Linked DNA regions of Homo sapiens: all the other regions are linked to region 2. The links are contacts of gene promoters, found by promoter capture Hi-C in blood cells and fetal thymus (Javierre and others, 2016). All regions are on one chromosome and are shown on one strand. Each heading gives the region's core, a stretch centred on a gene start or on the middle of the fragment in contact. The rest is flanking DNA. Distances are from core to core; before and after follow the strand shown.

Evidence for each region. The method cuts DNA at HindIII sites, captures the fragments that hold promoters and counts their contacts. A CHiCAGO score of 5 or more calls a contact.
Region 1: a fragment that was not itself captured here is called in contact with the fragment with the promoter of TMEM39B in region 2 in 6 of 17 cell types (non-activated CD4 T cells, total CD4 T cells, activated CD4 T cells and 3 more); the score reaches 6.3 in non-activated CD4 T cells.
Region 3: a fragment that was not itself captured here is called in contact with the fragment with the promoter of TMEM39B in region 2 in 2 of 17 cell types (non-activated CD4 T cells and naive CD4 T cells); the score reaches 5.5 in non-activated CD4 T cells.

The regions. Positions count from the first base shown.
Region 1 is chr1:32,392,347-32,395,612 of GRCh38, forward strand. It overlaps BSDC1 (BSD domain containing 1), which reads right to left and starts at 2,095. Exons shown (of 11, transcript NM_018045.8): 1 at 2,058-2,095; 2 at 1,734-1,794. The coding sequence starts at 2,068. RefSeq lists enhancers at 1,136-1,833, 1,821-2,110, 1,834-2,529, 2,401-2,480, 3,228-3,266. The HindIII fragment of the contact is 1,550 bases long and covers 771-2,320 here.
Region 2 is chr1:32,070,794-32,074,342 of GRCh38, forward strand. TMEM39B (transmembrane protein 39B) reads left to right here and starts at 2,146. Exons shown (of 9, transcript NM_018056.4): 1 at 2,146-2,258. The coding sequence starts at 2,255. RefSeq lists an enhancer at 1,545-2,150. The HindIII fragment of the contact is 11,018 bases long and covers 1-3,549 here.
Region 3 is chr1:32,371,191-32,374,464 of GRCh38, forward strand. The region is part of intron 9 of BSDC1 (BSD domain containing 1); the gene reads right to left. Among named protein-coding and RNA genes, the nearest start is that of TSSK3, 10 kb to the left of the region's middle. The HindIII fragment of the contact is 4,388 bases long and covers 1-3,274 here.

The DNA.
Region 1 (3,266 bases), core at 296-2,795, 320 kb after region 2:
AACAAAAAACACTTGCCCAAGTACATATAAGAGTAAGAAAGTAAAAAAAGGGAAATTACGTCTTTTCTTTCCAAAAAGGCATAAACAACTCCCACCTCCACCCCCACCCCAGCTTTTAACTGGGAATTCCAAGAATGAAGACGGAAGGTTGGCCAACTATCTATTTTTCATAAGTTATGATAAGACCAACCTTGAGACAAACACAGGAGGCCCTCATGCAACATCTGCTGAATGAATGTCAGACTTTCCTGCCAGGAAATTACCCAACAGGAAATATGCTACTATCGGGTCTCTTCTATCAAATGTTAGGGTGCAAGCCTCTCAGTCCTCATCAACAACATAAACAGCTCAGGGCATTCTCAGATTTGCTGGGCTATTGCTGAGAGGCTGTCCAGGAGTACCCAGGATAAGGGAGGAATAAAAACGCTCCCAGATGTCTGGGTGTGGTGGCTCACGCCTATAATCCCAGCACTTTGGGAAGCTGAGGCAGGTGGCTCACCTGAGGTGAGGAGTTCGAGACCAGTCTGGCCAACATGGTGAAACCCTGTCTCTACTAAAAATACAAAAATTAGCCAGGAGTAGTGGCACATGCCTGTAATCCCAGCTACTCGGGAGGCTGAGGCACAAGAATCACTTCAATCTGGGAGGCAGAGGTTGCAGCGAGCTGAGACCGCACCTGTGCACTCCAGCCTAGGTGACAGAGTGAGACTCTGTCTCAAAACAAAACAAAAATACTCCCAGAGTAGAGGACTTATTTAGGTGAGGTCAGAAGCTTCCTGGAGTTGGCCCTGAAGCAGGACTCATCCCAATTGCTTGAGGTAAATAGTAATCAACTTTTCCCACAATTCAGTTGGGCTGATTTTGACAAATAAGCATGAAATGAAACAGGAATACACATTGGCAAATTACCCACTGGCACAGCCAAATATCACTCATCCCACAGAGATTGTTCAGCAAGAAGGCCTTCCACTCTCTGGTGATTAATCTCTCTCTCTCTACTGCCCGTTGCATAGCCCCTACTTAGAACTCATCAGGCACCAGTGTGTATGGCTCATGCTCATCTCTGGCTTGGGTTCTTGCTTTTCATCCTGTCTAGGCAGGGTTGCCCTTGATGAGGTTCCTTCTCCACAGGGGCCTTCCCTGGTGAGTTACTGACTAACCAGAACAGACAAGGTGCCCCTGTACTTTCCTTTCACAGAACTTACCACAACGGTAACTAAACAACTATTTGTTTGGCTACTCGGTTAATGGCTGTCTCTCCACTAGACTGTGAGCTTTGTAAGGCCCAGGATTACATCTGTTTGGCTGAAGTCTGTATCCTCAAGACCTATCAGAGTGCTGGTTGTCGCATATACTCTAATATTTGAATGACTATACGAGTAAGTTTTTTTACTGCTAGAATCTTTTCCTTCAAGACCTGTATCAAATGCTCTCTCTTTCACGAAGAAACTGAATTTCCTGAGCTGGAATAAATTGCTCCTTCCTATGGATTCCTACAAAACGTTCGTTAACTCCAGCCTTTAAAACCATCTTTATTTCACTGTGGCTAGTATCACACTGGTTTGCGTCGAGGTCTGTCTTCCCGTGGACCGGTAGAGGCTAAAAGAAAGGCCCAGGTCAGCCTCATCCTTGAGACTTAGCGCCCGCAAAAGTTGGGCGGGGCTGGTTGGACCAGGTTGCATTGAGGCGGCGCAGGGCCCTGCTGAGGGAAGAAGGGCACGGGCCCGGCTTACCTTCTCTTTGACTGCTTGGTAGCTCTGCTGCAGCCAGCTCCGCCACCATCCCACGTCCTCCCTGTGGAAGACAGACACATCTGGCAGCACCGCGGTGCGATTCCTGCCCGCCCAAGGATCCGGTTTGTTCCCCGCTCAGATGTACCCTGCGGGCCGAGGCTTCGCAGACCGCTTGCCCACCCCCTCACAATGCGACTCCACTCTGCCCTTTCAGATCAGTCCACGCCCCCGCTGATCTCACGTTCCCCACCGGGACTCTCGCCCAGCACCCCAACCCTGGGAGAATTCAGGCCCCAACGCCTAGGAGCAAAACGACAAGCTCACCCTTCCGCCATCTTGCCTGCATGACATCACCACTATTTACTGACCTTTGACTTCCGACACGGCACCGCCCCCTCAAGGACCGCCCCCGAGGCGCTCGGCCCAATCCTCGCGCCGGCACCGCCCTCAGCCCAATCCCCTCCCTGCGCCATCATTAGGTCCCGCCTCCCTGAACTCTATCCAGTCTCTGTCCCGAGTTCGCCCTCAAACTCCGCCCCTGAACTCTCAGTTCAATCGTCATTCAGTCCTGTCCTCAGGCTCCACCAAGCTTGACTCTTTGTCACTGTCCGCAAACGTCGGGTACGGTGGCCTCTATGGACGATGATCAGCCGACAAGCTGGACTGCGGAGAGCTGGGAGCAGAGGGGAGGAGGAGAGATAGCTCGAACGTCAGGATCCCAGAGCGCAGGGTTAGGACCGCCCCCCTTTGTGAAACCAGCTGCGTAGAGGCTGCTTTGTGTCTCTTTGGGCTAATTCAATAAGCCCATATTGCGGGGCTGTGGCCCAGAGTTTGGAGGAATGTGAATAATTCAGAGGCGACTTAGATGCAGCCTTTGGAGGGCTTACGGGTTAATGGGAGACACACACATTCAGTAATCTCAACTTTCGGTGGCCCAGCTCAGAACAACGCCAGGTGGAGGTGGTCTGGAGAAATCCGGAGACCGCCTGGATTGAGTTCTACTGCGATTGGAAGGGAGATTCCACAGCCCACATACTTTGGACTTTAATTAAGGTCAGCCCCTCCACGTGTGCGGTAGATCCCATCGCCTCTTGTTTGCTTAAGGACATAGATCTAGTAATCCCCCCTTCATCTCTTTTCCCTCTGATGACTGCATTTATCCTTGTCATCATCCGTACTGCTGTTTCTCCCATCTCAAAGGCAAACAAAAACCAGCCCTCTCTATATCCCTCACCGTTTCCCTACTCCCCTTTACAGCAAAAGCGTTGCCTACTCACAGTCTGCAACTCCCCTCTCCTCCCATTCTCTCTTGAACTCACTGCAGTTAGGTTTTTGCCTCTCAGACAATCCTTTGAAATAACTTTCTTTTATTTATTTAATTTTATTTAATTTTATTTATTTTATATTTATTTGTAGCTCTGCTGCAGCCAGCTCCGCCACCATCCCACGTCCTCCCTGTGGAAGACGGACACATCTATTTTATTTATTTATTTATTTTTGGTCCTCCCTGTGGAAGACGGAAACATCTATTTT
Region 2 (3,549 bases), core at 896-3,395:
TCTCATTCAAAGTAAAAGCCACACAGCCCTACATGATCTATCCCTTCTCATGTCCTACTCTTATATCTATACCTGTGTCACACTTGCCTCCTTATTTCTCAAACACACCCTCTTGGCTGGGCGTGGTGTCTCACGCCTGTAATCCCAGCACTTTGGGAGACCGAGACTGGCAGGTCACTTGAGGTCAGGAGTTCAAGATCAGCTTGGCCAACAAGGTAAAACCCCGTCTCTACTAAAAAGTACAAAAATTAGCCGGTGGTGGTGGCACGTGCCTGTAATCCCAGCACTTTGGGAGGCCAAGGCAGGCGGATCATGAGGTCAGGAGATTGAGACCATTCTGGCTAACATGGTGAAACCCCATCTCTACTAAAAATACAAAAAATTAGCAAAGTGTGGTGGCACACACCTGTAGTCCCAGCTACTTGGGAGGCTGACGCAGGAGAATCACTTGAAACCGGGAGGTGGAGGTTGCAGTGACCCGAGATCACACCACTGCACTCCAGCCTGGGGACAGAGTGAGACTCCGTCTCAAAAAAACAAACAAACAAAAAAACAAAAATTAGACCAGGCGTGGTGGTGCACACCTGTAATCCCAGCATTTTGGGAGGTCGAGGTGGGTGGATGATTTGAGGTCAGGAGTTTGAGACCAGCCTGGCCAACATGGTGAAACCCCGCCTCTCCTAAAAATGGAAAAATTAGCCGGGCATGCTGGCGGGTGCCTGTAATCCCAGCTACTTGGGAGGCTGAGACAGGAGAATCGCTTGAACCCGGGAAGCGGAGGTTGCAGTGAGCCGAGATCGTACCACTGCACTCCAGCCTGGGCAACAGAAAGGGAGACTCCAGTCTCAAAAAAACAAAACAAAACAAAAACAAAAATTAGCCGGGCATGGTGGTGCACGCCTGTAATTTCAGCTTGTTGGGAGGCTGAGGCAGGAGAATCGCTTGCACCCAGCAGGTGGAGGTTGCAGTGAGCCGAGATCGAGCCACTGCTCTCCAGCCTGGGCAACAGAGACTCCATCCCCTCAAAAAACAAAATAATAAAATAAATACACCCTCCTGCCTGAGGGACCTTGCACTAACTATTCCCTCTGCCTGAAATGCCCCCTTTCTCCAGAAATCTGCACCACTGACTCACTCATTTCCTTCATGTGTTTACTCAAGTCAACTCTGAAGCCTGCTCTGCCTGCCCTATTTAAAACTGCAACCCCATCCCCCTTTCCTGTTTTTCCTTCACACCATTCCCATCTAACATACTACAGAATTTACCAATTTTGTTCATGTCTATCTCCTCCCACTTGACTGTAAGCTCTATGACTATTAATGAAATATCTACTAATTCATTCAATTAATTGAATACTGCTATTAAGTGCCAAGCACTGTGCTAAGCAATGGAGCTACAAGATGACTAAAACTGCTTGTAGGTCTTGTGAGGGAAGAATCCTAATGACAATAAATGTAGCTCATTTAGTCAATGCTTCTCCAAACATCGTGATGGCTAATACTAAAACAGACTCAGTTCTGCATGCTCTATTTCATTTAACCCTCACCGAAACCTACACGGTGACCATCAGCAGCCTCATCGTAAAGCATAAAAAAACAAGATTGCAAGGCTGGGAAATGGCAGTCAGGATCTGAACCACGGTGTTGACAATGAGAACGGTGAGTAACGTCAAATGTGAGAAATATTTAGGACTTAGGCTCACAAAGACTAAGGCAAAGATCGGATGTGGGGGCCGAGGGAGGGAGGAAATGACTCCTGGATTTTGACTGGGGTGGACTAAAGCGCAGTGAGGCCTAAGAGAAGGATGAAGCGCAACGTGGGGCTGGGCTGGAGGTGCCTGCGGACCGGTCAGGGATATGGTCCACCCCTAGGGGAGCGGAGAGGCGGCTCCGCACCCTCCTCCGGTCGCCGCCGCCCCGGTCCAGGAGATGCTGAGAGAAGACACGCACGGGAAGAGCAGGAGGTGGGTTCCGTTCCCCTCCCTCTTGAGTCTCTTCACCAGCAGCTGCAGGAAGGGCGTGGGGGACCGAGAGACAAAGAGCGCGCAGGCACCGCCTCCGTCCGGGCGGCCCCTTTAAGAAGCGCGCGCCAGCTTCCAGCCCGCCTTGTATGCAAATGTAGCGGCGCGGCGGGAGCGCGCGGCTGATACCCGGGACTGGGCTGCGGCGGTTAGTCCTCTCCCGGCCGCCGTCGCCTCCGACATATTGCCCGCAGGAGCTGCGGCGGCGAAGCGGAGAGCACCGGGGGGAGGAGATGGGTGAGCAGAGCGGCTCAGGCTCGGCCTGGCAACGAGCGGGCGCACGGGTTAGGATGGCCAGGCTGCTAATTGCTGCTCCACGCGGACAGGAGCCCGGTGACGGGAGGGGGAGGGGATGCGAGCGCAGACGGGATCCCGCCCCCTCCTGTCGTTTTGCGGGGTGGGGCCTCTGTTGTGGGGGCGGGACATTGGACGGTGGGCGGGGCTTCTAAGACGAAGCCCTGTGGGGGCTTGGGCTTTCGTGAGGACCAGCTCGTCGGGGCTAGAAAGGGGGGCGGGACTTACCAGTGGGCGTGGCTTCAGCGCTAAGGGTGGAGATTCTGGGCAGGGGGCGCTAGTGCAGTCGGCGTTTCTGGGTTGGAGGGGTTACACTGGGGGCGGTGGAGCGGGGAGACTTCCGACTGAGGGAGCCCATTCTGGAGTGGGGCTTCTGGGCTGAGAGGGCTTTTATTGGCTTGTGGGCGGGGTTTCTGGGCTGACAGTTGTGTGTAGGCGGAGCTTCTGGGCTGAGGGGCTTTATGTGGGTGCAGAGCTTCTAAAGAGAGGAGAGTGGGTGTGGGCAGAGCTTCTGGACTGGACTAAGGGTGTTTGTGTGGGATTTTCTAAGCCAAGTATAACAGCGTATGAACAGAGCTTCTGGTCTGGGGGTTTATGGAGGGCAGAGCTCTTCGCCAGGTACTTTTTAGAGACTTGTGGAGGTTTATAATTTTGGGCATACATCCAAGCCCAAAATTGGCTCCGAAGTGTGGGAAACGCTTCCGAGCTGAGATGCTACGGCGTGGGGTGTATGTGAATGGAGGCTGCTGTGTTACTGTGAAGAGGTATGAACAGGTTATAACTTTTTAAAAATATGTATATGTATGTATATATATTTTTTAATAGAGACCGGGTTTCGCCATGTTGCCCAGGCTGGTCTCCAACTCCTGGTCTCAAGCGATCCTCCCGCCTCGGCCTCACAAATTGCTGAGATTACAGTCGTGAGCCACCACACCCAGTCAGGTTGTGACTTTTTTAGGTGCTTAGGAGCTTTGTGCAGAACTTTTGTGCGAAGTGGTGCGTGGGAGCTTGGGCTAGACTGCTCAGCCTAGTAGGTCCAATTTTTCAGTCCACAGCCACAGGATTCTCCCAGCCATATCCTTGACCCTTTATTTAGGCCCTGGGTCCTGCCCATGAGATCCCAGAATGCCCTTTGAGCTGAATCATGGGGCCCTGGATGAAAAAGCTGTCCCAAAGTTACCCAGAGTTATAGGCCTCCAGAAACTTATGTCTGAATGGGGCCCAATGTGTACCA
Region 3 (3,274 bases), core at 719-3,218, 300 kb after region 2:
AAGAGATGAGCAAGATATCCAAATACACTAGCAAAGTTATCTCTAGGTGATGAGTTCATGAGGTGATTTTCCTTAATTTTTTTCCTAAAATGAACACATACGACTTTGTAATCTTTTTTTTTTTTTTTTTTTTTTTATTTGAGATGGAGTCTCACTCTCGCCCAGGCTGGAGTGCAGTGGCACAATCTCGGCTCACTGCAAGCTCTGCCTCCTGGGTTCACACCATTCTCCTGCCTCAGCCTCCTGAGTAGCTGGGACTACAGGCGCCCGCCACCACGCCCGGCTAATTTTTTATATTTTTAGTAGAGATGGGGTTTCACCGTGTTAGCCAGGATGGTCTCGATCTCCTGACCTCGTGATCTGCCCGCCTCGGCTTCCCAAAGTGCTGAGATTACAAGCGTGAGCCACCGCACCCAGCCTGTAGTCTTTTTTTTTAAGTACCTTTAAAAAGAGTGGGTCCCTGATCCTCCAACGGCATGACCAGTAAACATCTCCGTTTCTTCTTCTCCGACCTACTCCTCACCAGATGCCTCCGCGCTGAGACCTACCCCTCAGCCCCGCTCCCACATTCCTTCTATGGTATCCTGCATCATCCTCTCTTCTAGCCAGAGCATGGTCTCTGGGGCCAGGCAGACCTGGGTTGAATACCTACTCCTTTACTGTGTAGTCTTGGGCAAATTATTGTTGGCTTCAGTCTATTTATAAAATATGGATAAAAGCAACCTCTGCAAAGAACCACTGGAGAAGCGTATTAAAATACAGACTCCTACCCTGCCCACCCCCAGTCCCAACTAAGACTCAGCAGGTCTAGCTGGTGGCTGGGAAGGCTGCATTATAAGCAGGTACCTGTGTGTTCTGTGTAGACCTGGCCCTGCCGTTTGAGAAACAATGGTGTTAGAATTAGAGGTATGAATGTAAAGTGCCTATTACATACATACACATGGCTATGTAATGAATGGTGCTGCCTTTCTTCTAAGGGCCTTGTCTCAGAGTTATGTCATTCTGTACACGGTACCTCAGGAAGTCAGGGCAGCCAAGACCCAGCTCTTCTGACTCTGCACCTACATCCCTCTGTGCCTTCAGGACACTTAGGTGACATTCATCTGGCTGTCACCACAGGCTTCCTGTGGGTTAGCCAGACTCTTCGCTGCTTCCTCACTTCAGGGCTTTGGTTGTGGCCATGACAGCTTTCCCTAACCTCAGGTTGCCCTCTAGGGACTTGAAACTGTCTCTTCAGGCTTAAATGCTATGGCAGAACCTTTCAGGGGTAGAGAACAGAGTATCCACTAACATTTCTGGAATATTCCACATCTAGCTCTTGGGTGGGTATTAACAGTCCCAGTATACGGATGAGGAAATGAAGGCTTCAGGTGGTGCAGGGAGCTGTGAAGCTGGGTTCTCTCTGCCATCTGCCTCCTTCCACCGTCCTACCCTGTCACACAAGGAGAGCACTAAGATCTCCATTACAATGTGCATGTGGCAGAGAGGTGGCCTATGCTACAATTTAAGACTTCAGAATGGAGTTCTACTGGTTTGGTTTTGAAAATGGAAGTTTTCGGGTGATTGCTAACTTTGTAGTGCTGTCACTCACAGCTCATTTTATTCTGTTTAATCGGCTCTCTGCTTCCCCAGTTAAGAAATAGAGGCAAAACTGCTCTTAGGTCACACGGTCATGAAGTGAGGTCTTAACCTCCAGGCTCCTTCCAGGCCACAGGCCTGCCCCAATCTCTCCTCCCCTTCTCTGCAGAAAGAAGTCCAGTCTCTCAGAACAGACGAATGCTGTGACAAAACATAGGTGGAAAGCAGCTCTGCGATGACAGGGATCACCCTGGGAACCAGTAAAACCCTTTGGCTAGGGTACCCCAAGAGACTCTGCTATACCCAGAGACCAAGCCTTATGTCACCCTAGGACTTGGGCCCAACAGGAAAAAGGAGTCACTTTGTCTCCAAGCCCCCATTCTTCTTTTTATTTCTTCTACTCTGTTCCCACTGTTCCAGCCTAGTCCAAGACTCTGGCTTCCTCCCACCTGACTACGGTTGTTTCTTGTGAGTCTTCTATAGCACATCCTCAGCCTCTCCTTTCACAGGCCCTGAGGGCAGCAGAGGCAGCATAGCAGAGTAGTTAAGAGCTTATGTTTACCTCTCCTGTAATTTCAATTCCATCCAGTCTCCAACCACTACTGATTTTTTCTGATCACCCTTTGTAGCCCAATTCCAAATGAAACCTATAATTTGTAACCCTCCAACTGTTTCACTATCCCTCATTCTCTCCCGTACTCAGCTCAGATTCCATGAGGCATCATTCTTATCACTTCTTGCATATACTTTCTTTTCTTTCCTATTTTTTTGAGACAGGGTCTCAGCTCTGTCACCCAGGCTGGAGGGCAGTGCAGCAATCTCAACTCACTGCAGCCTCAACCTCCCCACTCAGGTGATCCTCCCACCTCAGCCTCCCGAGTAGCTGGGACTACAGGCACGTGCCACCACATCTGGCTAATTTTTTGTATTTTCTGTAGAGATGGGGTTTCATCACAATGCCAGGGCTGGTCTTAAACTCCTGGGCTCAAGCGATCCACCTGCCTCAGCCTCCCTTAAGTACTGCAATTATAGGTGTGAGCCACTGTGCCCAGCGGACTTTCTTCTTTTCATCAACTGATTTTACCTGGCTAAACTTGAACCTAATTAGATCCAACTCCCCATCTGCTCTGTTCCTGCACCTGAGCAACTGAATATGGCTGAACAAAAATACAACATGTTGATGGTCTCACTTAAAACCTACAATCACAACCTCAGTGGGCCCTGGGACCATCCACCCAGCAACCCTATTACACCTGTCAGGCCCACCACCTACTCCTCCCTCTTCTACAGGACTATTTCACACTGAAATATTTACTGGGTGGGTCACTGATCTCAGGTTCCTACCACTAGAAATATGAGAAAAAGTACACAGATCTCACAGGGCTTTTGTAAGGATTGAGTAATATGCATATTACTGTGCATATGCATCTGTGCTTAGCACAGATCTAGACACAGAGAAAGTGCTCAGAGAATGTTACCTCTATTTTCATTTCCCCAAAGCAGGGCTCTACTTAATTCTGCTCTGACTGAGGATCTATCATGAAACAATTATCCCGTTTATGGAGGAGCAAACAAAGGCTTAGAGAAGATTAGTAATCTTTCTGAAGTCACATGACTTATGAACAAAGTTGGGATTTGAACCCAGAACTGTCTGAACTCCAGAACCCACAGCCTTAGCATCCATGCTCTGCTGCTT